Regions from separate parts of the Homo sapiens genome. Here all the other regions are linked to region 1. Evidence: promoter capture Hi-C in 16 types of primary human blood cells and fetal thymus (Javierre and others, 2016). All regions are on one chromosome and are shown on one strand. The core of a region is centred on a gene start or on the middle of the fragment in contact, and the rest is flanking DNA. Distances in the headings are between cores, read along the strand shown.

Region 1 (3,534 bases), core at 727-3,226:
CACTCCAGCCTAGGCGACAGAGCGAGACGTCTCAAAACAAACAAAACAAAACAAAACCCTGTTAAGATCTAGTGTGCTGAGCTCTTCAAAGTGGTAAAGTATAGGTTCCTTGGAAACAGAAGGGTCTCTGATTTAGGATTGGTGGGGAGGGAGGACTGTAAGCCTTCCTGGAGGAAGGGACATCTTCACCCAGAGTAGAATTGGATTAGACTTCAATGAGAGGGCAGGGCAAGGTTGAGGGAAGAGGCCCAGAACTGAAAAAGTATGACAGAATCCAGCAGTAGAAGTAAATTGAATTGGGTTGGAGGGTGCAAGTCATTCTAATTTCATGTGTAGCACTTGTCACTTTCAGATCATTTCTTGTTTACTGTCTGTTCTTCTACCCTCATACCCTCACAGAGAATAGGAGGCCTGGCCTGCTGATTCCTTAGTGGCTGGCATATATGTCTGTTAATCTTTCTTGAGAGCCAGCCTTGTGTCAGATCCTGTTCTAAGTGCTTCCCTCGCTCCCCACCCCCGCCATTCAACAAAATTCTACTTCTTCAGAGCTGGTTCAAATGCTTTCTTCTCTATGACCACCCCCCCCCCTGCCCCGCCCCGTCTCTTTTCCTCACTCCTACTCTCAGAATTAATTACTTCTTTCAGAGGTCCCTCAGCTATTGATCCTTCCTTGCAGCATCAATTTAATTATGCATAGTGTCAGTTTGCGGTTTCCTTGTCTCCTCCATTTCTCATTAAGTTTTAAATCATATGAAGACAGTGCATGTTTGTCTGTCTCTGTAAGCCCTACAACACTTTGGGCAGGCTTTTACACACAAAACGGGGCTCAAAAATATTTTGAATAAATGATTTAGGGAGAGGTCCACAAACGCCCTCCACTCCCACCCTAGTCCTCAGAGCAATACTTTAAAATAAAAATCTGACCATTTCAACCTTGTTAAAGGCCGATCTTCATTCTGAGAACAGAATTCTAACTCCTAAGCACGATGGTGACCTCAGGGCGCTGTGTGAACCTGCACCCGCACCCCTGTCCAACCACGTCCCTCCCCACACCTGGTCTAATAAAACGACTGCTTTAGGTGACCTGCACGATCGGCTGTACTGATTCATGCCACAGGCTTTTACCTCAATTACTCCCTCTGTCTGGAATGTCCTTTCTTTCCTTGCCTGGCCTGATTCGGGCATGGCCTTCTCAAGCAAGCTTTCCGTCTTTGAATCTAGGCCCTGATTAAGAACTTTTTAAAAAAGTACTAAGTTCAGAAAAGTTTAATATGGTGTTCCCCCATTTATGTGATTAAAAATGAAAACAATACTAAAGTGTAAAATGTAATCTTTAAAATGTCACACAACTTTACATGCATGCTAGATTTAGAATACCATCTGTATTTACGATTTTCTCTTATTGACTGTCTCCACGCGCACCCACTCTGCAGACGCCCTAAAGAGTGTCTATCGGATCACCCTCAAGTTGGGTCAAACGGCTCCTCTTCTCGGCTTTTCGGGAGCAACCCTATCTCAACATTCACCATCTTAAGATGAGCAGACTGCAAGTTTGCCTCTCCCACCAGTATGGGAGCTGCCGAAGCGGCAAGAACAGCGTTTCCGTCCATCGAGCGCCAGGTCACCAGTCAGCTCCAGTCCTATTTTGAGTTGAAGTAAAAGCTCCTCCCTAGATGGCCAGTGCACGTCTTTAAAAAGCGACTCCTTTCCCACAAAGGAAATACGACTGGTTCGCATCTATCAAGGGTTGGCGTTGGGATAAGAGGGTGAAGTATCAGCTGGCCCTGATTCTCTGAATTCCCGGACCCAATAACGCGACCAAGCACCGTGACTCCCAGGAAAACTAGCGGAGTGAGCGCGGCTGAGGAAATTACTGACACCGGAAGTCACGTGAGCGGCTGCCCCTAAGGTCGCTATCTCGACAGTCGACTATTCAGCCTTGCAGGCGCCTCTGGCGGGCTTCACTGAGATCCGCTCTTTCGGTGCTCGACTCGCCCGTGCTGCTGCCGCCGCCGAAGGAGGGGCAAAGCTCAAGATGGCGGACAAAACGCCAGGCGGATCTCAGAAGGCCAGTTCAAAGGTAATTTCTGACAAAATTTCGTAAGTCAGCGGATCTACCACTGTCGTTTGGGGCCCACAGACGCTTCTGGCCTGTGAGAGGCGATTGGGATTGGGGTCTGCATTCTAGTCGCGACGGTAGGCCCGGGCGCCGCCGCACCGTTGTGCGCAGGTTGAGAGGCCTGGTATCTCCCCATAGTCCCAGCCGGGATTCAGCTCGAGACTGGCGTGCCCAGTGGGTGGAGGCGTGAGTGCTTCGGCCCGCGCTTGGCATTGGAGTGAAATCAGGAATTCAGATTGAGGTCTGAAGCAGTGAAAACGCTCTCCTGTATCTCAGCTTCCTGCGCCCTGAGGCCGCCAGACAGCGCCTGGGAGAGAGGCGGGAATCGCTTCCCGGTGCTTAAATGTCTGCTGCTTTTTTCTCGGTTTTGGATCTCACTCACTTCCGGCCTCCCTCAGTTTCCCTCCAAGGAATGAATAACCTCTAGGGTCGCCAGCTGTGAGGGGAGGACCACTAGGGCAAAGACACGGAGTGGGAAATGCAGAGGCGGGAGCAGCTCTCCTTTGCAGTGCTGCATAGCCAAGGTTAATGTACAGTCTACACGTGGTCTTTACCTTAACGGGAAGTAAAAAGCACTTTTGAGGGTAGAGGACTCGTGGTCTCTTTCTTTATGTTGAAGAAACAGTGAAAAGAGAAGCTCCGTAGACTTGTAAGCTACATACGATTAGTAAATTGCATTTGTGTTTACAGGGAACCCTGGGCACGTATTGTGAAACCAGTGAGCTGTGGTAGTAGTTAAGCATTAGTACGGTTGGGTTCTTAGTTGCCATCTTGGGCGGGACATTTAATCGTTTTTTGGTTTGGGTTTCTGGTCTCGAATATATTAAAAGTAATTGGTACTGCCACGAGGTAGTTAAACTTTCCGATGCTGATGCAAGAAGCTGTGTAACACTTTCAGGTGCTAGGGACTGTTAAATCTTAAAGAGTGTGTGACTGTAAATCGGCTATTAGAAAGTTAAATTTACGGTAGGAGAGAAGCTTGCGTTTACAGTTCTGAGAAACATCATAACTCGTTTTCTACTTGCTTTCTCTAATCCGACTGTTTATGCCATTTGGTGAACGATGTACACCAAAATAATTAATTCATAATTAGTAATGGTCTTAACAGACATCGTTTAGTTACATAGAAACTTTGGTGAGGGGCCAGTTTCGGCTTCTTTACAAGGTATTGTGTCAGTTTTTTTTCCCCCTCCTCAGTACATTTTCTCGTCTCCCTCTCTTTGGGGGCGAGCTCTACCAACTCTTCTCAACAGACTCCTGACAAGAACATACCGTTAGGGAGCTATTACTAAAGCTAGCTACGTTCATAACAAGTCGTGCATAAGCCTCACAATTTTTGTTTCTTCTCAAAGTAATATTTTAAGTATTCCCTACTTGAGGTCTTGGATACATTGAAAACATTTCAATGTCTGTGT
Region 2 (3,534 bases), core at 725-3,224, 980 kb after region 1:
AACCACCAAAATGAAAGGTATCTCAACATTCTGTGATCAAGTACAAAAGTTGCTGTACAGTAAGTCAAACCATGATGTTCATTACCTTTGTTAGCTAGGAAACTACATTTTTAGTATTTATACAGGTTTTTATAAAACTGTTTATAGCTGTTTACAGTAATACTGGGATATTAATTGATACAGAAAAACTCAGATTTGGCTGTCTATTGCTTCATGTATTAAAAAATATATTTTTAAGAGTACAAGTGTTTTAACAGCTTGAAGAGGAACTCACTTTTTTCCTCCAGGAGAGGGAGCTACTTGTCGAATTTTTGGACAGCTGGTGACAAACTAGATTTTTCTTATATTGTCCAAAAATTAACAACTTCAGGGAAAAAAAAGTCTTTGAACTGACTTCATCCAAGTATTCTTAACAAAACTTCCAGTATCGTAAGCATGCTTCAAAATAAGCATGTAAAAATTTCTTTTGATAAGGTGTTTAAGAACTGAAAAATACTTACGAATTTAATCCATTAAACTCACCTCTTCTGATTTGAAAAAACAGTAAAAAATTGAAGTTGCTATTATTCCTTGAAAGGAGAGGTGAAAGACATTAAGTGTCTAAGATGTTTACACACATACCTTATCTATGTAAGGCTGTAAAGATTTGTGATATAAATTTCCCCATATGAAATGGCATGAGAGTATGGCTTTCTTCTTATTGTTGGATAGTTTCACTAGTTTACAACAGTTTACCCATAGAATTATTATCTTCTAAAAAATGTTTATAAACATCAAGCAACAAGATAATGCTAGTAGTACCTTTATCTTCTACTCTGATACCCTTTCCTCGTCGTCACATTTTTACTTCACTAAGATGTGTGTATTTTAGTGCCAGGTATACTGTAATCCTATGAAAAAAAAAATGGAGGAGAGGAACTATGTTGACTTTTATATTGTGTAAATAGGAATCTTGAAGTATTCAAAAATTGAGTTGTTGAAGTAATTGGCAAGATCACAAGTTATTGTTGATAAATTTTCCATCGTATTTGTATTTAACCTATTGAATTTACAGAAAGGGAGAGTGTGTGTGTGTGTGTGTGTGTGTGAGAGAGAGAGAGAGAGAGAGAGAGAGAGATGCTGTCTGGATTTGTTGAAGTTCAGACAGAATCTCTGACTTTATAACCTGGAAGTAGTGAAGATGGTCTTGTTTGTAGGAAATGGAGAAAGCTCTTTGTTGTTTAGGGGGACGAGCTGGGAATGTTACTATTTGTGGAACTTCATTTGCCTTAAATTTTCTGAATCATGGTTTTAATAGGATTTACTTTATTTTTATAGTATATGACTATCATTAAGCTATGGTTTTTAAGCTTGCTTTTCTATTCTTATAAATGATATAATACATGCAAAGCACTTCACGTAGTATCTGGTAAATTGTAAGCATTCAATAAATGTTAGATATTGAATAAAGTAAAGGTAACTTTAACTGCCTGGTGCATTTGATCAGCTGTTTTGAAGCTCATTTGGGGTATGGATCACCTTAAAAATAATGGTGATTTTGAATATCAACCATACTTTAGTTATACTGATTTTTTTCCATTATTACTTTGATATAATTTTTTGTAGAAAACTTTCAGTGAATGTTGTTTTTGCCTTTAAAAGTAATTTATATAGGGAACAACATATTTTTTAAGTTCACTGGTGAAAATGTAGTTTTTGAAGTAAACAAAAGATTATTTAGCTAACGGTACTTTAGAAAAGTTGATAGATTTTTACTATTGGACTCACTTCCTTCTTTATAAAATGAAGCTATTGGATTAGATCCTTTTCAGCTCCAACATTCTGGGGCTTTCAAACTCTTGAGAAATTTGGTTTTTATTGTTGTTGTTGTTGTTGTTGTTTTCTTTTGAACTTTAACGAGTGGGTTTAATTAAGCTCTTCTGAAAGGGGATTGGGAGTGGGATGCTCTCTTTCAAGCCTTTCTTCCTACCCCCAAATTTTTACACACATGAAATAAAACAAAAACCAAAACCTTCCTTTAAGGGGAAATATGTGGAGTTAAGGGTAGCCAAGGATCTTGTGAGGCAATAGTGTGCAAAACGATGTTCCAGACTTTGTTTCAGGAGTTTCTTTTCAAACAACAGTTTAAGGAACCACCTACTTCTCCTTTACTGGCTGTTTCTTTAGTAACTGTCTTCCTAGATTTCGGCTTCAGAACACATTAGAGATGGTTCTTAGTAGAGCAGTTTTTAATCTAATAAATTTTGTAAGTTTTTGAACTTTTTGTGGCTTTTCATCTGAGAGTCCATTGACACTTTTGATTGCTCTTCAAGATAATCAAACAAAAATAATAAAACAATTTTGGATACCTCAAGTCCAAAAAGGGGGTGGGGACTTTTATTTTAGAAAGACCCTAGAAACAGACAATCGCCCTTAAGAAAGCATCACTTCAGAATCAGTAGAGCAAAGTCATTTGACATCCTGGACTAGTTTCTGGACATATCCATATCTTTTGACCATTTTGAATTTTGTCCTTTGTATACTTTTGTCTAGTCTTTGAACTATTCTTTATATTTCCATTGCATAGGTTAGCACATATTCTCACACATGTTGGGAAATAGAAAGCTTGTTTTTATAGGTCTTCTGGACATGGGTGTCCAGCTTCTCAGGGGATTGTCAGACTGGTTTTTATTCTGTTTTTTTGGTTTGTGGGCTCTGGCTTACTTCCTATTTTTCTGTCATTGCTGCTGACTCTTCACAGAATGCTATTTTTTTCTTTCTTCAGCTTTCACTCATTACCCATATGTTAAATTATGGCCTTATAATTTAAATCCTGCATTTTTCTAATACATTTGATGAACTTTAGTAAATGGTTGTAACATGACTGAAAATTATTAGTGTAAGGTGAGGTTAGTATAAGGTGATAGGAAGTTGTCTGTGAAATTCTTGAGAGCTCTTTGAATTTATAACCAAAAGAACTGAATTTGTCTGTTCATTTTACAATCTGTTACAAGGCATTTGGATTGAAAGGATGGAAAGATGGCCGTAGGAAACAAGTAGCTTACTATGTAGGAGGTAGGTACACAAATAACTAATTATTATACAATCCATTTAATAAGCCCTGTACAAAAGGTATCTATATCTATCTATCTATCTATATATATATATCTATATCTATATATATATATATATCTATATATATATATATATATCTATATATAGATATATATATATCTATATATATATATATATATACTGTCACATGACTCAGGGAGGGACATCTCATTGTATATTGATAGGAATGGTACCAGGGAAAGTTTCAGAGATTTTGCCAATAGATGGGGGTGGAGAGTGGGAGGAAGGGTGGAGGGGGCAGTATTGATAGAGCATCCATTTCACATTCTGTATTACCACAAAGTTGTTGGATGGTATTGAGCAAGTCACTTAATGTTTCCGATTCTAAGTTTTTTTAATCAGTAAAATGGGGTTGTTAATACTTACCTAACAGGATTGTTTTAAAGATTAAAGAAGAAAGGATTATTCAAGTAATATCTG
Region 3 (3,534 bases), core at 468-2,967, 840 kb after region 1:
GGAGGAGGGTAAAATGGATCAGGAGGGTGTAGCCAACATGTCCAACAACCCAATTTAATCCTGAGGAACCTGCAGGGAGTGCTAGGAAGAAATTAATGCCTGCAGAAGATTTTTCAGAAAAGATAATTTTTCAATCCTTGATGATTCACTATGTAACTGTATTTTCTTTAAATCTTGAAAAACTTGGTGTTGAGTGAATTAAATTTGTCCTACTTAACTGTTAAGCACATTCTTAAAGAATCTGAAAACGCTTTAATATGATATAGTTTAATGAATTCAAAATGTAAACTTAGTGCCTTGAAATTTGTTATGTGCCCACTAAACAGTGGCCACAATTTTTACATGAATTCAGACTAACTTCTATGGGAAGGCCAGGAAGTCAAAGGCAGAATTCTAAGAGGTTTAAATTGCTCTGTCCCTAAGCTCAGATCCCAGCCCTCAAATGCACAGGATTATAAATGTCCTGTAAAGTATGGCAGCCCCCAGTGATATATAATGGAATTCTTAATGCTGTCAGGGAGCAAGGAGCAAATTTCTTTTATGAGCACTGAACAGGGGATACAGGCCCTAAGTGAGTGGTACTAAGTGCACCAGCTGCTGTCAATCAATACTTTAACCGCTAATTGTCATTTATGCTTCCAGTCCAATTTAAATGAGTATCATTATGGCTTATATTTTAAACCAGTTATGGATTCTAATCCTTCAATTTTGAAATGAGAACCATCGAATATCATAATAGATTACCCATTACTGTTCCTGGTGAAGCAAAAATATGGTTATAAAGCTGCCACTAATTTTTATAAGCTTCCTATGACCCTTAATAATAAGAAAAACCTATTTTTTATATAATGGATTATTTATACTATTTGGAGTATCATATGAATCTCTGATTGACACAGAGTCTAGCCAAATGCCACACAATTTTTCTTGGTCTCTACAAGTGTTCATATGATATTTTAAGATTAGCAACTTGAAAATTATTTCTAACAAGAAATATAAAAGAACATTAAACATTCTGCTTGATCACTTTTCTCTGCATTTTTTAAACTGCTTGTTTTCTAAGCCCCTGTTCTCTAGAATTTTTAAATTGGACTCTCAGGTACATTGATAAAATAGACTCAACATCTATCGAGTCTTCTAAAGAACATTTGACACATGTCAAAGGAATACTGGCAGAAAAGCAGATGGCAGAATAGGCTGAAGTATTATAGGAAATTTGATGCTGGGGAAAAACATTTATCATTCTTGATACAGGACAAGTAATACATTATACAAATAGTGAGAGCAAGAACAGTACTCGGTGGAGTAGGGGAGTTGCTAGCCAAATTCATTGATAAGCATTAGGTGCAGGTCCACTAAATCTTAAAATATATTTCATTACAAGCATATGTGTCTGTAGCACGGAGATGACTGTTACAGTCTACTCTCAAATGTTCACTTCCTTAAGAACAAGAAATTTTAAAAGTTTAACTTTCTTTCTCTTTCTTTCTTTCTTTCTTTCTTTCTTTCTTTCTTTCTTTCTTTCTTTCTTTCTTTCTTTCTTTCTTTCTTTCTTTCTGACACAGTCTCACTCTGTCACCTAGGCTCGAGTGAAGGCTGGAGTGAAGTGGCACAATCATAGCTCAAAAAGCTTAAGTTTTAAACATAGTTTTGTTTCTTTTCTTCCCCATTAGTTATCACCATGCCCCCCTGCTCTTGCAAAAGCTAAGAGTTTAATCCTTTAATGGAAAGGGGGATAGTACAATGTGGGATGCTGAAAATTCACTCTTTTAGACCTCCTGGAAAAGAGAATCTGGCTAATCCTGAAAGCTTAACCATATGAGGATGCATCTAGATCCCACAGACACATCCTTTCTCCAGGAAAATTATTGCAATAATTTACTTATTTTTAAATATCTTAGCATCTCTTATTAAAGAGATGGAGGTTGAATCCCACCTCAACAGCTAACTAATTACACGACTTTTATCTCTCTAAGTCTTCATTTGTTTGTCTGCAAAATGAGAATGCTGGATTTATGATCTTTAAGGCTCCTTCCCCATCTATGATTCCAAGTTCATTTATAGCTGTTGGACAATTAATTCACTTGGCATCTCCTTTCCCCTATCATTAAAAAGTGTTTACTACAGTATCCCATCATGTTCCTCTGGTGTAGTTTCAGACTATTTTATTACATTACTGATAGAAAGTTCCTAATAAGCATTTAAGATATAACATTTAGGACATCCCTGAAGAAGAAATGTGACAAGTCATGAATGCCACCCATATGGAGTACTTTCAGAAAACACAGGGAGAGTTCTTTCAGGTGAACGTGAACCTTAGTAAGACATGCAGATGAGTGAAAGCACATGGACCAGTCATGAGTGGCTATTCAGTTTTGGAAAGTCCCTTCACTTCTCTGGGATTCAGCTTCTGCCTCTCTAAAATAAAGGGGATAGAGAAGATAACCTCTAAAATTCTTTGACATCCTAACAATTATGATTCTATGCCAAGAAAAAGTTAAACATCACTAAAATATGTCTTTTCATTGATCTATATAGTTCAAGATAACTGAAAGATACTCAAAATTTCTAGTAAGAGAATACATATATATGCATATCTCCATAATTTTTATAATCCTTTTACATTGCACTGGTTCAGAATTTGCTTTCAATAACTTTTACTTTAAAAAACTCATGAAAGAAGAATAGGAATCAGAGAACCCAACTTAATTCCACTCATAAACTTTAAGCCTTTATCTGCCTTAAGAACAGCAATTTAGAGAAATGCTACCTCAATAGCAGTGGTCAATGAACTACTATTTTATTATTTCAAGCACAATTTAAAAATATTTCAGAGAGTTTTGCAGGATTAAAGGTAACCTGGAATTTTTCAGATTCAAAAGTAAGAGTTACTGTATGTATTGTGAATGCAAAACATGACTGAATTTTAGTAGGTTATCAAAACTTTTACGAAAACAATATCCCCACCATTGAACTTGGTAAATGAGTCATAGTTCAATCAAATTCAGGGATGTGAAGAAATCTTTCCCTCTAATAAAGGTTGGCAATCTATTAAATCTGGGTAGTTTTGCTAAAGCACATATGTCCCTTTAATATGATATCAAGAATTACATTGTTTCTGGCTTCTCAGATTCTATTCCATATCCTTGCAGATTACTTATTAGTCAAGTCAAGAGAAAAATTCTGTTCATGATGGAGATAGGCAAATGACAGGAACCTAGGGCTTCACATCTGATGGCATCCCCTCCTTTTTGTTTGGCTATTTCTCTCCCACCTGATTGTGATTTTTTTTTTCTCTTAAATGAGAGTTTTCTTGTGCCCGTTAAGACCCTCAATACTGGCTGGGAATGGTGGCTCATGCCCGTAATGCCAGCATTTTGGGAGGCCAAGGTCAGTGGATCTCTTTAGGCCAGGAGTTGGAGACCAGCCTGGGCAACATAGTGAGACCCTGTCTCCACTAAATTTTAAAAAATAAATAAAACAATACAGCAAAAAAAGGTTTTTTTTTTTTTTGCATTTGGGTTATGTTTTTTT
Region 4 (3,534 bases), core at 751-3,250, 770 kb after region 1:
TTAAAAGGTTTGTAGGAGGGAAAATGCCTCCCCTGTAGTGTTCTACTTGGAGCCTTGATTCAGAGCACACAGTAATACGAAGAAGCAAGGGGGCTTCCTAATGGGCCTGAATTGTAGGCTGATGGGACCATCTGCAGGGAACAGGGAGGAGAGTGTTCTCTAAATAGAACCGATGTTCACTGAGTGCCAACTCTTTAAGATGCAGTTATTCATTGTGATATTTATTTTCTTTTTGTGACATTTTGGGCAAGATCATGATTCAACTGTGTATAGTGTATGATGTTAACCGAAGAAGGAAGGTGATGGAGTGCTTAGATTAGATGAAGCCTGCCTTTCCAGATTAATAATATCTTGTTAGTCACACACACCCACACATAGACACACACTCTGAAGTCACAGAGAGAAGGTGCCATGGGAGAAAGGTTAGAATCTCAAGCTCAAGTACAGCTAAAGACGCTGAATGGGGATTTATTCTCTACATTTAACTGTCCTCTTTCAGCCTAACTTGTCATTTAAACTGCAGGAAACACCTTAATTATATCTGGGAATTTTACTGGAATTTGGAGTACACTTGGTTAATAAGACATGATTTCCTCCGTGCTCCTGCTGTTGTCCCTCGTCACCTTTCTTGCTGGGAAAGGAATGGAGCCCTCCCAGGCTCTTTTCTCCTCTTGTCATTACCTGGAGGCAGGAAGCAGAGGACTTCACCTCCTTGTCTCATTTCCCAGGGGGTGGAGAAGGGACCACATCTCATTCTTGAGGGGATGGAGAAGAAGAAGAAGTCCCCTTTCCAGGTCTCCTCCAGGTTGAGCAGGAGGACAGAGGAGGAAATGCTCAGGACGGTCAGAGGGTCTGCTGAGCTGCGGCTGGGCAGATGAGTCCAAGACAGCCTCAGAGCATCCCCAGAATGTGTGTGTGTGTGTGTGTGTGTGTGTGTGTGTGTATTGGACAATGGGAGGGGGGTGAGCAGAATGCTTCCCACTGCCTGAGAGTGGCACAGACATGCCCCAGCCTGCTGGCATCCCTGGTGCTACTTTGCTGCCAGGACAAGCAAGGGTGTAGAAGTGAAGTGTGTGGACACATGCTTGAAATCCAGAGTATATCACCTCTGTGAATCAGCGTACCCAACTAACAACCAAGAGCAGAGGGCTCTGTCTGTGACACCTTCGTGCTCCAAGGCCTCCAGGAATTGGACACGGTCCCAGGGAAAGAGACTTAGTTTCAGTTACCCAGCATAGTAAAGCATCAAAACAGAAAATAATTTTAGTTACAGAAAAAAGTAAAAAAATTTGTTCTAGTACACTCAGGCTTGAGGATTAAAATGTATTCAAGTACAGATATTTGGGAAGGAAGGTTCTAGTTAGAAGTGCCTCAAATTCCAGGTTAAATCATGTGTAATTCATCATGGAAGCCCAGAGACTCCATGGATGTTTCTGAGAATTTTCTCTGCCTAGATGAAGCACAAGCTGGTCCGGGAAGGAACTGTAGCCACTACCATAGCACTTAAACACTCTTAGATAAATACCGCAGATGCCTTTTCACCTTAAAGAAGAGACATGACAGCTATTGTGAGGTGCTGATTAATAAGCTGAGTGGTTGCCCCAAGTCCGGTTTGTGAAAAACAGGTCACAGAGCTGTGATTGGAAACGTTATAGACGCTACTGCCCAAAAGTCCCACCTGGATGATGCCAATTTCAGAAGCGTCATATCAGCTCTCCATTTCCATCTGCAGATTTCAGAGAACACTGACAACTTTAGAAAACATGGAAATTGGGTTGATTTTAACTATGTTAAGGATGAAACTTTAAGTGGTCATGGTTGGACACAGGAGAAAAGAAATAACCAAAATCAGAGCTGAACTGAATGAGATGCAAAATTCTATACAGAAGATCATTGTTGGAAATCATGGTGGAGTTGATAGTTTTGTTCAGCCTTTAAAACATTTTTTTTGATGTATGCATTGTTCAAATTACTGGTCCCATTAGATCAATAATTGTATTTTGCTAGAGGTTGTATATTAATCTTCACTGTAACTAGTGTTGTGGTGCTAAACGTTTAATAAGTGGCTTTTTGGGGGGAAAAGCCCTGATTTGTAGCATTTGTAAATGTCCATGGAGTAAGTACTCACACAATGGCCAATTTCAAGCTAGCAATGAGGTCTCTGGACATGGAGTTGGGAAGAGATGTTCAGTAGCACATTCTTAAGTTGCATTTCCACCATATAGCTACAATACATGTACACAACCTCAAGAGCATGATTAATAATAAAATATAGAAAAAAATTGGGAAGCTATGAGTTTTTAGTATTTGTTAACTTTGTTTTTAATATAATTTATATGTTGGTATGTTTATGTAATCTAATTTTTACTTTTTCTTTTTTTTTTTTTGAAATGGGGTTTTGCTTTTGTTGCCCAGGCTGGAGTGCAATGGCGCGATCTTGGCTCACTGCAACCTCTGCCCCCTGGGTTCAAGCAATTCTCCTGCCTCAGCCTCCCAAGTAGCTGAGATTAAAGGCATGCTCCACCATGCCCAGCTAATTTTGTATGTTTAGTAGAGACGGGGTTTCACCATGCTGGTCAGGCTGGTCTCGAACTCCTGACTTCAGGTGATCTGCCCACCTCGGCCTCCCAAAGTTCTGGGATTATAGGCATAAGCCACCACACCTGGCCCTAATTTTTAACAATGGTTGTGTTTGATGGCTTGTTCACAAAGTTCCTGAAACATTAACCATTAGGTCTCATGAGTGGTACAAGCCATTTCCAGTGTGAGGTTCATTGCATCCCTGTCTCTAGCATGGTGATTGCCACTCAGTAGGGGTTTTACAAATGTTGGTGAATTAATTAGTTCATTAGTTAATGAGTGACTATTACAGCCTAAAAGTTTTTCAAATGCAAATGCAATAACAGATGTGTTTATTTAACATCAAATAAGGGGATAATTTAAAACAAAAAGCCAAAAATGCATATAAGGCAAAATTCTATTTTATTGCCCTCAATAAATAATCAGTGAACTAGTAAACATCTATTTATGTACTTATGCTACTACGTAGCATCCATATAATTGAACAGTTGGATTTTAAACTCAGCAAGATATAATAACTACAGGCCAACCACGTCACCTTTCGGGACTTGACTCAACTAAAAGGGATGTCTGGGAAAGGTGTGTGGGAGCGCCTTTACTGGGCCCAGTGATATATTTTATTTTTGAAGTTGAGTCAGGGCTTTCCAGGAGTTTGATTTATTATTATGCTACCTAACTTCATACCGGCACTGAGTACTGTTTAGGGACACAGGTTGAAGCCAGACGGCTTGGGTTCAAATCCCAGCTCTTCCCATTTGCCATGTGATGTTTGGGATGGCACTTACTCCTTCTGGGCTTCAGTCTCCTCATAGGTAAATTAAAGGCAACAACACTGCCCACTTCTTAGGGTGCGTGTGAGGACTGACTGGATTTGTATATGCAGAGTGCTTAGAGCATAAGACAGAGTAGCCTGGAAGTGTTAGCTCTTACGTTATTATGTGTATCATATACTAT
Region 5 (3,534 bases), core at 640-3,139, 750 kb after region 1:
TAAGATTAAGCCTCCATGATCCTTATTTGCGAATAGGTTTATCATTGTAAAAATAAAAGCTCCGGGCAGACACAGAGAAAGAGACAGAGAGAAAGAGACTCTAAAGTCAGCTTCCTGGTTAAATGCATAATGCCGTATTGTCTTGATACAGCAGTTAAAAGTGGCCCTAAATTCCCGTGGAAGAGGAAGACAATGCACCAAAAGGGCCTTACAATTCTAACTTCAGTTAAAATCATTTATTTTGAACTTTGTTCTAACTTTCAGTGGAGGCTTTAATGACTCCAGTAAATGACAATGTGCTTGAATTTTCACTGGCATTTTCTATTGTCACAAGCTTTAAGTTTCTTCAGAGCCCCAATTCTCTTGCATTATATTTTTTAATACCTGTAATCAAGGCCTTAGCCCAGGTCCTAAGCAAAGCTAACAAATAATTATCTTTCACAATAGAGCTAAAAACAGGAACCTAATTAATTAAAGCACTAATTGAACTTCCCATTACTGATACATTTGTTCCTGCTCTGACATAAACATTAATCAAATTCACTGAATAATTCAGCTCTCCATTTCCCTCACCTGTGTAGACAAATCTGCCTGCTGTCCTGTAATGGTGAAAGATGAAAATGTTTTATGATGTCATTTGGTAATATCCTTGTTGAGTACTAATAACTGATAATATTGTATAGTCAAATGGGAAGAGGGTACAGAGTAAAAACAAAATGCTGTTAAATATATATCTATATATATATATATACATATATAATTATATATCTTATATATTTATAACAAATATTTGTCTCTTCTTTTAAAAAACAAACCCATGGAGGAAAGAACCTTTTGAAAAAATTTTAAAGAATTTCGCAAGAACATCTGCATTTTAATGAAGTGGGTTATTTAGATTGCAACTGTATGGGGCAGTAGATTTCCTTTAATTATGTGATTAGATAAATATTTATGTATTTTTTCTCTGTTGAAATCCAAGCTTCCTGTTGAGTCTAAATGCTGGCTCTCCCCTCTCCAGCTGGCAGAACCAGTTTTCAGGGCTGCTGGAGAAGATGCACATCAGATGCTGCTTCAAGGAGATAGGAAGTCATTGTTCATGGGCAGTTCTGTTTTGGAAGCCAGGCTAACTGGGACCATAGTTTGATATTGCAGGGCGAGTCAAGAGTGCAGCTCTTGCTGCTGTCTAAACAGGCTCATGCTGTGTGGAGAAAAGGTTGCAGACTCTCTGAAGGCATCACCTTCTCTAAGTATCTCACCTTAAAACCACCAGGAGGAGGTTACCTGCAGATCCACCTAATTGTTGGTGGTGGATGATATGATGCCTAGCCTTCATCTCCCTTTGAAGATGTAGAATTTATTCCCCCCACTGCGGCAAAGAGGGCCCTTAGCTCTGAGCTCCCTATGGGGATTTCCTTGGTTGAAGGAAGCTATCTTTCCTGGAGGGCATGCTGCTTTCCAGAGACATCCGATGCTATAAACATATGAAGACCTGGTCTCCTGTGCCAGTTTAGACAGCTCTGAAGGGCCATCCTGACTCCAGAGTCCCCACTCCTTGGGGTCAGCTGGGGCTTTGGTGAGGGGCTGCATTGTAGTTCAACTTCCTCTGCACCCTCCTACCTCCCACCGCTTCTTTCCACAGGTCTGATCCCAAAAGCACTCCCTAATCTGTGCACAAGAACCTCTGCTTCAGGGTTGGCTTCCAAGGGAGCCTATCTGTGAGAGGGATGACAGGAAGTAAATAGTATGACACTACTCAAGATCGGGCAGACATGGCATCAACAGGCAAATGCTGAAAGGAAGTGAAAGAAAGCAGCTGGGGGTACAGGGAGAAGCAGACCACAGCGAAGACTCAAATGAAATAGGCAATGTTTGCCTTTCTCCTCAGCACTGCGTTGAGTGGAGTGTGATTCTGGGCCAGGGCCTGGGGCATCCTCAGTGAGGCTGACTGTAAGAAAACCTGTTCAGGCCAACATGGCAGCTGGGGAGAGGGAAGAACCAGGGCTGGGAGGAGAGGACTACTGAAATCGCCTTTCAGACACACATCAAACTCTTCAGAAACAGGTTCAGAGTTACTTCAAAGTAGACTTACTTCAAAGTGATGTTGAGAGATTTTAAAATAAACCACAGAGTTCTCAGAAATCTCCTCAGCTGCAGCAGCAGAGTGCACACCACCCCATCCTTATGTGGAAAGAAAATGAGATTCCAGAGATCTCTCTCATTAGCAGAGAGAACAGCAGTCCACCTTTATCTCTGGTGATATGGAAACAAACTATTCACAGGCTTCTAGAAACATCTGGCCCCCATTCCACCTGTTTTGAATTCTCTTTTTTATCGTATTAGCCACAGGCAGCCTAGTAAGTCTCCAGATGAGACCGTAAGTTTTAGGCACCGTTGCCTGATAAAGCTGAGACGATTTAACACAAGAGATGCTCACTGTGCTTTCCTGACCAGTGAACAAAGAAAAAGCATAGCGGCCTCCATAGGTCTGCCCATCTCAAGGGAGGTAAGGGTGAACATTGCAAGAAAGAAAGAAGGTAGGAGCAGGAGTATGGCGGCAACTTAAAATAATGAGTGTAGTTATAATACTTGGTGTGCTTTTGTCCCCAAAAGCCAGCACAAGTCTGGCTGCCTGCACAGAGCCGCAACTCTTGAAAGGGTACCAGGAGAGCTATGTGAAAAGGTTTTTTTTTTTTTTTTTAAGTTATCCGTTAGATGCTCTGAAAAGGGCTTTGTACTGAGCTTAAGGCAGCTCAGTTTAGCAGTAGGTAGAACATTGTTAAAATGGATAAAAATGGGAGATAAGCTTTGCTCCCATAATCTGCTTCCAATGGATATGGAAAAGAAAAGAAGTGGCTCCTTAGAGACATATTGTTGTTGCACTTATTGGGCTCAAAGGCCTTCCTCTGGAATTAATATTTACCTCCAATTACAGTTTCCTGGCGTAAGGAGTCCCTATTGATGATCCTATTCTGAAAAGCTTTGATTTATTGAGTAAGTAGGCAAATCCACTCACTTAGGTACTCCATCCCAGAAAGCAGCCAATGAAAAGATTAAAATCAGAGCAGGAGGAATGCTTTATTTACACTTATTTGAAGTTCAGACCTTCACTCCTCTCTCCCCACTCCCTTGGAGCAGAATGGCTCCAAGAAGTTTTGCTCTGCTTTTAGAAAGCTCACATCTGCCTCCAGGCTGTAGCTCTGCCTTACTGTATTTTATGACCTTTGGACAGCTTTTCTGCCTCCTTGAAATTGGGATTTGGCCTGCATGAAAAAAAAAGTGTCGATGTATCACTTTGCTCACACTAAATGCATTCAAGTTGGTGAATAGAGGACTAGCTGGACTTTGCAGAGACATCAAACATTGATTAAAAGCTCTGCTTTCTTTTCCCCATCCCCTATTTTTGCAAGGCATACAGAGCTCCAGTCCCTTCTCTGGATGGATGAAAGAACAAGGTGGAATTTTATCTCAAGAGAGGAAAAGAGAGGAAGCCAACAGAGGTCTTTCCCCTTGCCTAATGCTGCACAAGCATTTTGT
Region 6 (3,534 bases), core at 271-2,770, 710 kb after region 1:
TATATTTTTGAAACCTTTTAAATCTAGAACGGAGAGCTTCAACTGGTCTGTTTTGTTTGTGATGCATGTAATACAACTTGTTACTTGAAATTTCTTTGCAGTTGTAAAGTGAACTTTTGTAATATTTTGAATCACTTTTCAGAGTACACAGACTTTTTATAGGCTTCTCTTATAATAATAGGTTTTACTCACCAATCAAATATAGGAGAAACCACCAAAATGCTTTAAAGAACAATAGAAGGTTTACTCTTTTAAAAAAAATTAAAAAGAATTTTTTTCTTAGAGACAGGGTCTCACTCTGTCACTTAGGCTGGAGTGCGGTGGTGCTCGCAGCCTCCTTCTCCTGGGCTCAAGGTCTCCTGCTGTCTTAGCCTCCTGAGTAGCTGGGACTACAGGTGAGTGCCACCACACCTGGCTAATTTAAAAAAAAAATTTTTTTTTTTTTTTTTTTAAAGAAGAGGACTCAGCATCTTGCCCAGGTTGGTCTTGAATTCCTAGGCTCAAGTGACCCTTCCCACTATGGCCTCCTGGCCTCCCAAAGTGCTGGGATTATAGGCATGAGCCACAGCTCCAGGCCAAAACGTTTACTCTTATAATTATTTCCTTATAGATCCTGAGCTTTGAGATCACTACTCCTGTTTCTCACCACTCCAGCAACAGAAGTATCCGTTAAGGAAGGTAATTTGATTTGCTAAGGCTTGTTATTCACAAGTGTCTCTGACATAATACTAACTGACCAAACTCCAGGGCTAGAGCTACATGGGGCTAATTCTGAACAATCTACGGAAATATTTCTGACAATCACCTAGTTATCTGCTCTATTCAATACCAGAGAATTGTTATAACTTACTCTTCATCTATGGCCCTGCAACCTACCCACTAATCCCTATCACCTCGATATATGGACTGGCTTTACACTGTTAGCACTGAACTGAAACGTACACCGTTCTGCAAGTCCCCATTTGATTTGAGTTGAGCAGGCTTTGAATTCAGTTGTAAGGCAGAACTTGGCCTTTATTTACAGATGGTTTCATGAACCATCTGCAAATGAGGGTCAAGAATAATAAATGGCCCAACAGTTGATGATGTGATTTCTTAACAACTCTACTTCTCTGGGGAAAAAAGCACCTGCTATTATCAAGCTTGATTTGATCTTTGAGGATGCAGCACAGAAAGAATAGGTGCCTCTTCCTTTATGAAACTGAGGTTCAGAGGAAGAGGAAAGAATTAAGTTTATTAAGCTATATAATAGACTGTTAATTGAGTGACTAATATATGCCCAGCACCTTGGCCAGTTGCTTGGCATAGAATGAAAAAAGATAACGAGCAATCTACCGGGGGTAACAGAGAAGTAAACAAACTATTACAATCCAGTGTAGAAGGCCATTTTCTAGCTCTTTGACCCTAGGCAAGTTAGCTGTTTCTTCTTTTCCTCCATTTTTTGTCCATAAAATGGGCATAATGTCCTCCTTTAGTATTGTTACCAGATAATCACTACTGAATGACTCAATGGATTCTTTAGTTCTTCCAGCTATTACTTTCTTTGGGAAACACAAAAGATGACTTAGCATTAGCCATCTCCCTCAAAGAACCAGTGAGTTGAGAAAGGCTTCAATGTGGAAGCTGTCAAGAAAAGCCTTTAGTAAGCTGTTTTCAACAAAGAAACATATGTGTGTTTTTTAAAAATCTAATTGCACTACAGAAAATTGCCAAGACCTTGTTGGGAAGAGATTACTCCTTTAAATGGTTCTTTGTATTGGATCTTGGGAATTTATGGGTGGTTTTGTCTCAGGTGTGTATCAAAGTGACCACTTCTCCCAACACCATCCACCACCACATTTAATCTCAGATCCCCCTGAAGAAAGTAGAGGAAGAACCCAAACAGAAGATGGTAAAGGCAAGCTTTCCAGGAAGTCACAAATAGCTCAACAGGTTTAATCCTTCACATCAGAAAATTATTCAAACAACACAAAATCCCCAAGACTCAGTGAAGTGACAAGAGAAGATGAAAAGAGAAGGCAGATTTTTCGCAAAAGGAGTGGTAGGATGGAGGGAAGAGAACTGTATCAATGGAAGCTTATTGTGCAGACCTTGGGACATACTAAATTCAGTGTATTCAACATTGGCCGGATCTCAGCTAACACAGTTTCTTGTTCAAAACACCCTGTTTGGAAAATGCCTCCTAAGATACTGGAGGTTAGAAACATGTTAGGTGGGTAAGAGTTGTAGGGCTGTGTTTGCTGGCTGGGAGAAACCCAAGAAGGAACATGGTATCCAGAGTTTAGAACTGGAGGGTGGTCATAAGGAAGAAAGAAAAAGGATTTAATCTATGTTGCTCTAGAAAGGCAGGGGAACAAAAAGAGGTGGATATTACAAAGAGTCAGAGCAGCTTATTGAAAAATTGTCCAAAGAATGCAGTAGAAATGGATGATTGTGAGAAGTAGTGAGCCTCCTTCCCTGAAGAAATTTAAACATTCCTTAAGTATTCTGTGAAAGGGATATTGATTTGTTCCATATAACAGAAAACAGGTACATGTATTGTTCTTGCCATGGTCAGGGGGAAGTAGGACAAAATAAACAAACAAAAAACACATACAGGTGTACTTGAGGGAGCAAATTTGGGAAATAAAACGAGATAACTTTTAAGGTGATTTCAAACTAAAACTTTATGGTTTTATAAAAAGCTGAAGGAAGAAATAAAAGCAGAGACTGTAAGAGGAAGATGGGAAAATGTATAATTAACAATATTTTCTAGCATTTAGTCAGTTATCAAAGCAAAAATTTTAAAAAGGTTGACAGCACTCAAAATCTGGCACTGGATACTGATTTTGTTAACCAGCACTATTTTTCCAAACTTGACTGTGGCTTCTTCACAAATTCTCAGTTTGCGATTAGAATGACAACAGATGAAGTTATTCTTGTCTGTGTCGAAAAACTCAACCTTCCCAGGACATAGAAGGTGGCATTTGCAAAACTCATTTAACTCCTCCGAATTGGGACACAACTCATTTTGCTTTCCCAGATGACCATACAGAAAGTCTAGCAGCCTCTCTATCACATTTAACACGAAGGATCCTTTTCTGGCTTTGAGGAGGACCTGCAGGTACCTCAAACTCACCACCTGTAAGTCTGAACAAAGGCTCTTATCCAGAACCCTGGCATTATTCCAGTGTCTCTTTTCTTCATGAAGGCACCAATTCCCACCCAGAAAACTGAAGTCATTCTGGACACATCCCTACCTCCTCACCTTATGTGATCCGGTGTTAAACTGCCATTTTACATTTTGAATTGGTTTCAAATTCAGGCATTATCGAGTCCAGTCTAATATATCTCTTCTGGATATTTCTCTAGCTGTTGAAACAGTCTCCCTGTATCTCACTTCCCACCAATGTGTAGCCAGAATGGTTATTTTAAAACACAAATCTGACCATATATTTCCATGCTCAAAACCCTTTTATGACTTCCCATTACTAGTACGTCAAACGCCAAAATACTTAACATGGTTATGCCCTCCAAGATCCATTCTCCACCCTT
Region 7 (3,534 bases), core at 605-3,104, 680 kb after region 1:
CTGAATTCTAATGACCACTCTCTCCTCTTGTTGCTTTGAACCTAAGAGTGATAACTGTTTGGCTACTCCCAAGCTCCAGATGCCTGCACTATTCTTTGTAGTTCTTCTACAAATAAACTTTGCAACAAGTCCTCTATAAATAAAACCTTCTTGAATTATCCAGTTTCAAGTTTTCATTTAGAATAATATTTGGTATTAGATTTTGGTAAATACTTTGAATTATATTTAAACAGTTTTTTTTTACTTAGAATTTTTATTAGTAACGCTGCCGCATATTATTAAATGTCTTTTCCTCACAGATATGATTATATATTTTATTCTCTTATAATGTATCGATGTAACAGGTTATGTTAATGGGTTCCATGATATTGTACCACTCTCACTTTCATGGTATATTCTGCCTAACTAGCATTATTATTCTTTTGATGGATTTATTTATCTGACAAATATTTACTGATAGTCTCCTCTGAGACAGCTTATATTCTAGGCATTGGGAATATATTGTTGAACAGAATTTCTGACCATGTGCAACTAACGTTGCTGAGTTCTTTTTATAAGATTTCTTATAAGGTTGTTCAAATTATATTCTGACTATTTCAGGAATTTATTTCCTGGGTGTGTGCTCTGTTTATTCTGACCAGTCTTCCTCCCTCAGGCTGCTGAAAAGTCTTGATGTGCTTTTATCTTTCTTTGTCAGCTTTTTGGAGTTTAAGACTGTTTGTTGGACTACCTTCTGTGATAGCAGTCCTCTGAGTGGCAGAAGATAGGCCAGTGATGGAGAAGCAGGTGGGCTACCCTTCAGGTACCTGGAGGAGATAGGTCCCTTACCCAGTAACCAAAGAATCAAATTCACTCATGCAGGCTAATGTCAACTACTACCACCTTCCTACCACCAACGTCCACAGATTTCCACAACCCAAACCACTTTTCAGGATTCATAGCTTTCCAGTCTCCATCTAAAGACTTGTTTGAAACTGGTATCTAGAGGCTCATGCTACTCATTGTAGAGAAAGCTCACTATCTGTTATTTCTGTAGGGTTTGCATAAAGCTCAAGGCTTCACCAGGACTCAGCTGCATATAGGAACCAACTCCTCTTTGCCTTAGGAAAATCAGATAAATTACAGTAATAAAGGGCAAGAAAGCCAAGTTAAAGTCACTACTTTCCCAGAATCCACTGCTGACCTTCATGAATTTTTTTAAAGTGATTGTAATGTTAAGTTTTGAAATGACTCTCCTAGGGCCAAGTCACTCACCTCTAAACCTTAGTTTGCTCTTTTATAAAACAAGGGTGGTAAATTAAAGGAAGTAGCTCTTTCCACAAAAGTATCCTACAATTTTATTATTTTAAATCATTCATTTTATATCTAAAAGCATTGTGCATACATTGTCTGGATCAATGAAAGCAGCTATAAAAATTTGTATAAGTTGAGAAATTTTAACTAAACTATATATTTTATAATATTTAACATTATATTAGTTTGTCATTTTTGTTGTAATAAATTATAACAAACTTAGTGGCTTAAAATAATGCAAATTTATTATCTTATATTTCTGTATATTAGAAGTTCAACACATGTCTCAGTTATATCAAATTAGGGTAGCAGAGCTGCATTTCTTTCTGTAGGCACAAGAGGATAATCAGTTTCTTTGCCCTTTCCAACTTCCAGAGGCCACCAAAATTTCTGGGCTCTTAGCCCCCTTCCTCCATCTTCAAAGTCAGCAACATTATATCTTTCTGCCCTTTTCTTTTATAGCCACATCTTCCTCTGATTGCAGCCAGGAAAAGTTCTGCAACTTTCAGAGACCCATGTGATTAAACTGGGCCCATTCAGATAATCCAGGGTAATCTCCACATTTCAAGGTCCTTAATTTAATTAATCTTGTAAATCCCTTTTTGCTATTTAAGGTAATATATTCACAGGTTCTAAAGATTAAGGTATGGGCATCTTTGGAGGGCCATTATTTTGCCTACCATGAAATTTACTATTAATGTTTTAGGTGTGATGATGGAATTGTGGTTATGTTTAAAATTATATGTTTAAAAGGGTAGTTTATTTATGGGTGCATTATTTGACCAAGGGTGGCGATAAGTTCTGTACATTCCATTTAGATGAAATAAGTAGCAGCTTAAACTAAAAGTGATTGTGTGACTTCTAATATGATGCAACGTGATCGATCAAGCATCGCCTATTGAACATTCTTGCAAAAACTGAGGAATTCGAATCTAAGTAATCAGGACTCTCTGAAGCTAACTTTCACTTACAGAAATATGAGGATATAGGAACAATTAAATGATACTATGGGAAGTGACAAATCCAGAATGTGGTACATCTTGTAGAACTGACCCAATTTTCTCAATAATAGCATTTTTAAAAAAGGTAGGAAGGAGCACTGCTGTAGATTAAAGGAGAACGCAGAGAAGAGACAACTAAATATCACTTGTGAAACCTGTTTGAGTTATCAAAGGCAAAGGGCAAAAATCGGGAAAATTTCAGTGTGGATTGGTTATTAGATAATACCAATGGATTATGGAACAATTTTCAGGTTGGATAGTGCCGTCACGACATGTAAGAACCATGTCCTTCATCTTAGAGATGGGTACCAAAGTACATAGGGGTAAAATGATAATGTCTGAGATTTGCTTTTAAAAATTATGACCTCTCATCTATAAGAATAGATGTCAAAGTATATTTGTGTTTTATTCAAAGCAAAATTATCACATTACATATATTACACTCCCAACTTTAACCAGGCAACTCACAAATGAATATAGTTGGTCACGGGAGAACTAACCAGGTAGGAAGAATCATGGAAATTCATTATTATCATGAAAACAAGCAAAAATATACATGTCTCACTGTATTATACTGATGGAAAAATAGCAGCCCCATCTTAGTGCAGCATAAAAATAATGATGACAACATAACAATAAAAATAAGACATATTATCTTATTTAATCCTTATCAAGAACCTTTAAAATAAACCTTATAGTCCCATTTTATATTTGGAGTAACTGAGGCCAAGTGAGTCAGATAAAATGAAGATTTAAACATGACTGTCCCACACCACGAACAGTGTTCTTAATATTCAATGACTGCTCTATTTATTTGATAAGTATTTATTATGTACTGTGCAGAACTCAATGGGCCTTTTATATTGTGAAGCATCTGTGATGATCTAGTCATTAAATATTATCTAGTGTTGATGATGATACAGATAAAGAAATAGATCCTATTAAGCACTTGTGTATTTTGCCTTGTTTGGTGAGAGAACTGAACTAATAATTTACATCAAATAGATTTTTAAAATCTGAACTTGATGAAAAAAATCATGGACTGTATTTTCCAGCTGGCTATGCAGGTTGTCTCCCTTTACTCATTTTAGATAAGTATTTACTTTTCATATTGAGTCTACCCAATTTAGGAACATTAAATGTGTCAACACACTTTGAAACCATGCTAACGTAATATAAATACCAAGTTTCTTGAACCTGTGACATGTTACATAAGAGAAAACAGTAATGGGTGTTTCAA

Evidence for each region. Contacts are between HindIII fragments. The CHiCAGO score rates a contact against its expected background, and 5 or more counts as called.
Region 2: a contact is called between a fragment that was not itself captured here and the fragment with the promoter of U2SURP in region 1, in 6 of 17 cell types (non-activated CD4 T cells, fetal thymus, activated CD4 T cells and 3 more). The highest score is 8.8, in non-activated CD4 T cells.
Region 3: a contact is called between a fragment that was not itself captured here and the fragment with the promoter of U2SURP in region 1, in 1 of 17 cell types (total B cells). The highest score is 5.5, in total B cells.
Region 4: a contact is called between a fragment that was not itself captured here and the fragment with the promoter of U2SURP in region 1, in 3 of 17 cell types (naive CD4 T cells, fetal thymus and total B cells). The highest score is 6.2, in naive CD4 T cells.
Region 5: a contact is called between a fragment that was not itself captured here and the fragment with the promoter of U2SURP in region 1, in 8 of 17 cell types (naive CD4 T cells, fetal thymus, non-activated CD4 T cells and 5 more). The highest score is 14.6, in naive CD4 T cells.
Region 6: a fragment that was not itself captured here is called in contact with the fragment with the promoter of U2SURP in region 1 in 1 of 17 cell types (naive B cells); the score reaches 7.4 in naive B cells.
Region 7: a contact is called between a fragment that was not itself captured here and the fragment with the promoter of U2SURP in region 1, in 2 of 17 cell types (naive B cells and M2 macrophages). The highest score is 8.1, in naive B cells.

What each region holds. Positions count from the first base shown.
Region 1 is chr3:142,999,594-143,003,127 of GRCh38, forward strand. U2SURP (U2 snRNP associated SURP domain containing) reads left to right here and starts at 1,977. Exons shown (of 28, transcript NM_001080415.2): 1 at 1,977-2,080. The coding sequence starts at 2,036. It overlaps PAQR9-AS1 (PAQR9 antisense RNA 1), which reads left to right. Exons shown (of 5, transcript NR_125393.1): 5 at 1,434-1,497. LOC100289361 (a long non-coding RNA gene) reads right to left here and starts at 1,874. Exons shown (of 1, transcript NR_034032.1): 1 at 1,252-1,874. RefSeq lists enhancers at 1-415, 1,415-2,414, 1,689-2,338. The HindIII fragment of the contact is 1,896 bases long and covers 1,200-3,095 here.
Region 2 is chr3:143,975,469-143,979,002 of GRCh38, forward strand. All of the region lies in intron 1 of DIPK2A (divergent protein kinase domain 2A), which reads left to right. Among named protein-coding and RNA genes, the nearest start is that of DIPK2A, 5.4 kb to the left of the region's middle. The HindIII fragment of the contact is 1,255 bases long and covers 1,348-2,602 here.
Region 3 is chr3:143,843,233-143,846,766 of GRCh38, forward strand. The region is part of intron 1 of SLC9A9 (solute carrier family 9 member A9); the gene reads right to left. Among named protein-coding and RNA genes, the nearest start is that of SLC9A9, 3.5 kb to the right of the region's middle. The HindIII fragment of the contact is 179 bases long and covers 1,629-1,807 here.
Region 4 is chr3:143,771,115-143,774,648 of GRCh38, forward strand. The region is part of intron 4 of SLC9A9 (solute carrier family 9 member A9); the gene reads right to left. Among named protein-coding and RNA genes, the nearest start is that of SLC9A9, 76 kb to the right of the region's middle. The HindIII fragment of the contact is 8,302 bases long and covers 1-3,534 here.
Region 5 is chr3:143,749,999-143,753,532 of GRCh38, forward strand. All of the region lies in intron 4 of SLC9A9 (solute carrier family 9 member A9), which reads right to left. Among named protein-coding and RNA genes, the nearest start is that of SLC9A9, 97 kb to the right of the region's middle. RefSeq lists enhancers at 1,658-2,007, 2,068-2,187. The HindIII fragment of the contact is 1,824 bases long and covers 978-2,801 here.
Region 6 is chr3:143,711,148-143,714,681 of GRCh38, forward strand. All of the region lies in intron 4 of SLC9A9 (solute carrier family 9 member A9), which reads right to left. Among named protein-coding and RNA genes, the nearest start is that of SLC9A9, 140 kb to the right of the region's middle. The HindIII fragment of the contact is 760 bases long and covers 1,141-1,900 here.
Region 7 is chr3:143,681,065-143,684,598 of GRCh38, forward strand. All of the region lies in intron 5 of SLC9A9 (solute carrier family 9 member A9), which reads right to left. Among named protein-coding and RNA genes, the nearest start is that of SLC9A9, 170 kb to the right of the region's middle. The HindIII fragment of the contact is 3,732 bases long and covers 1-3,534 here.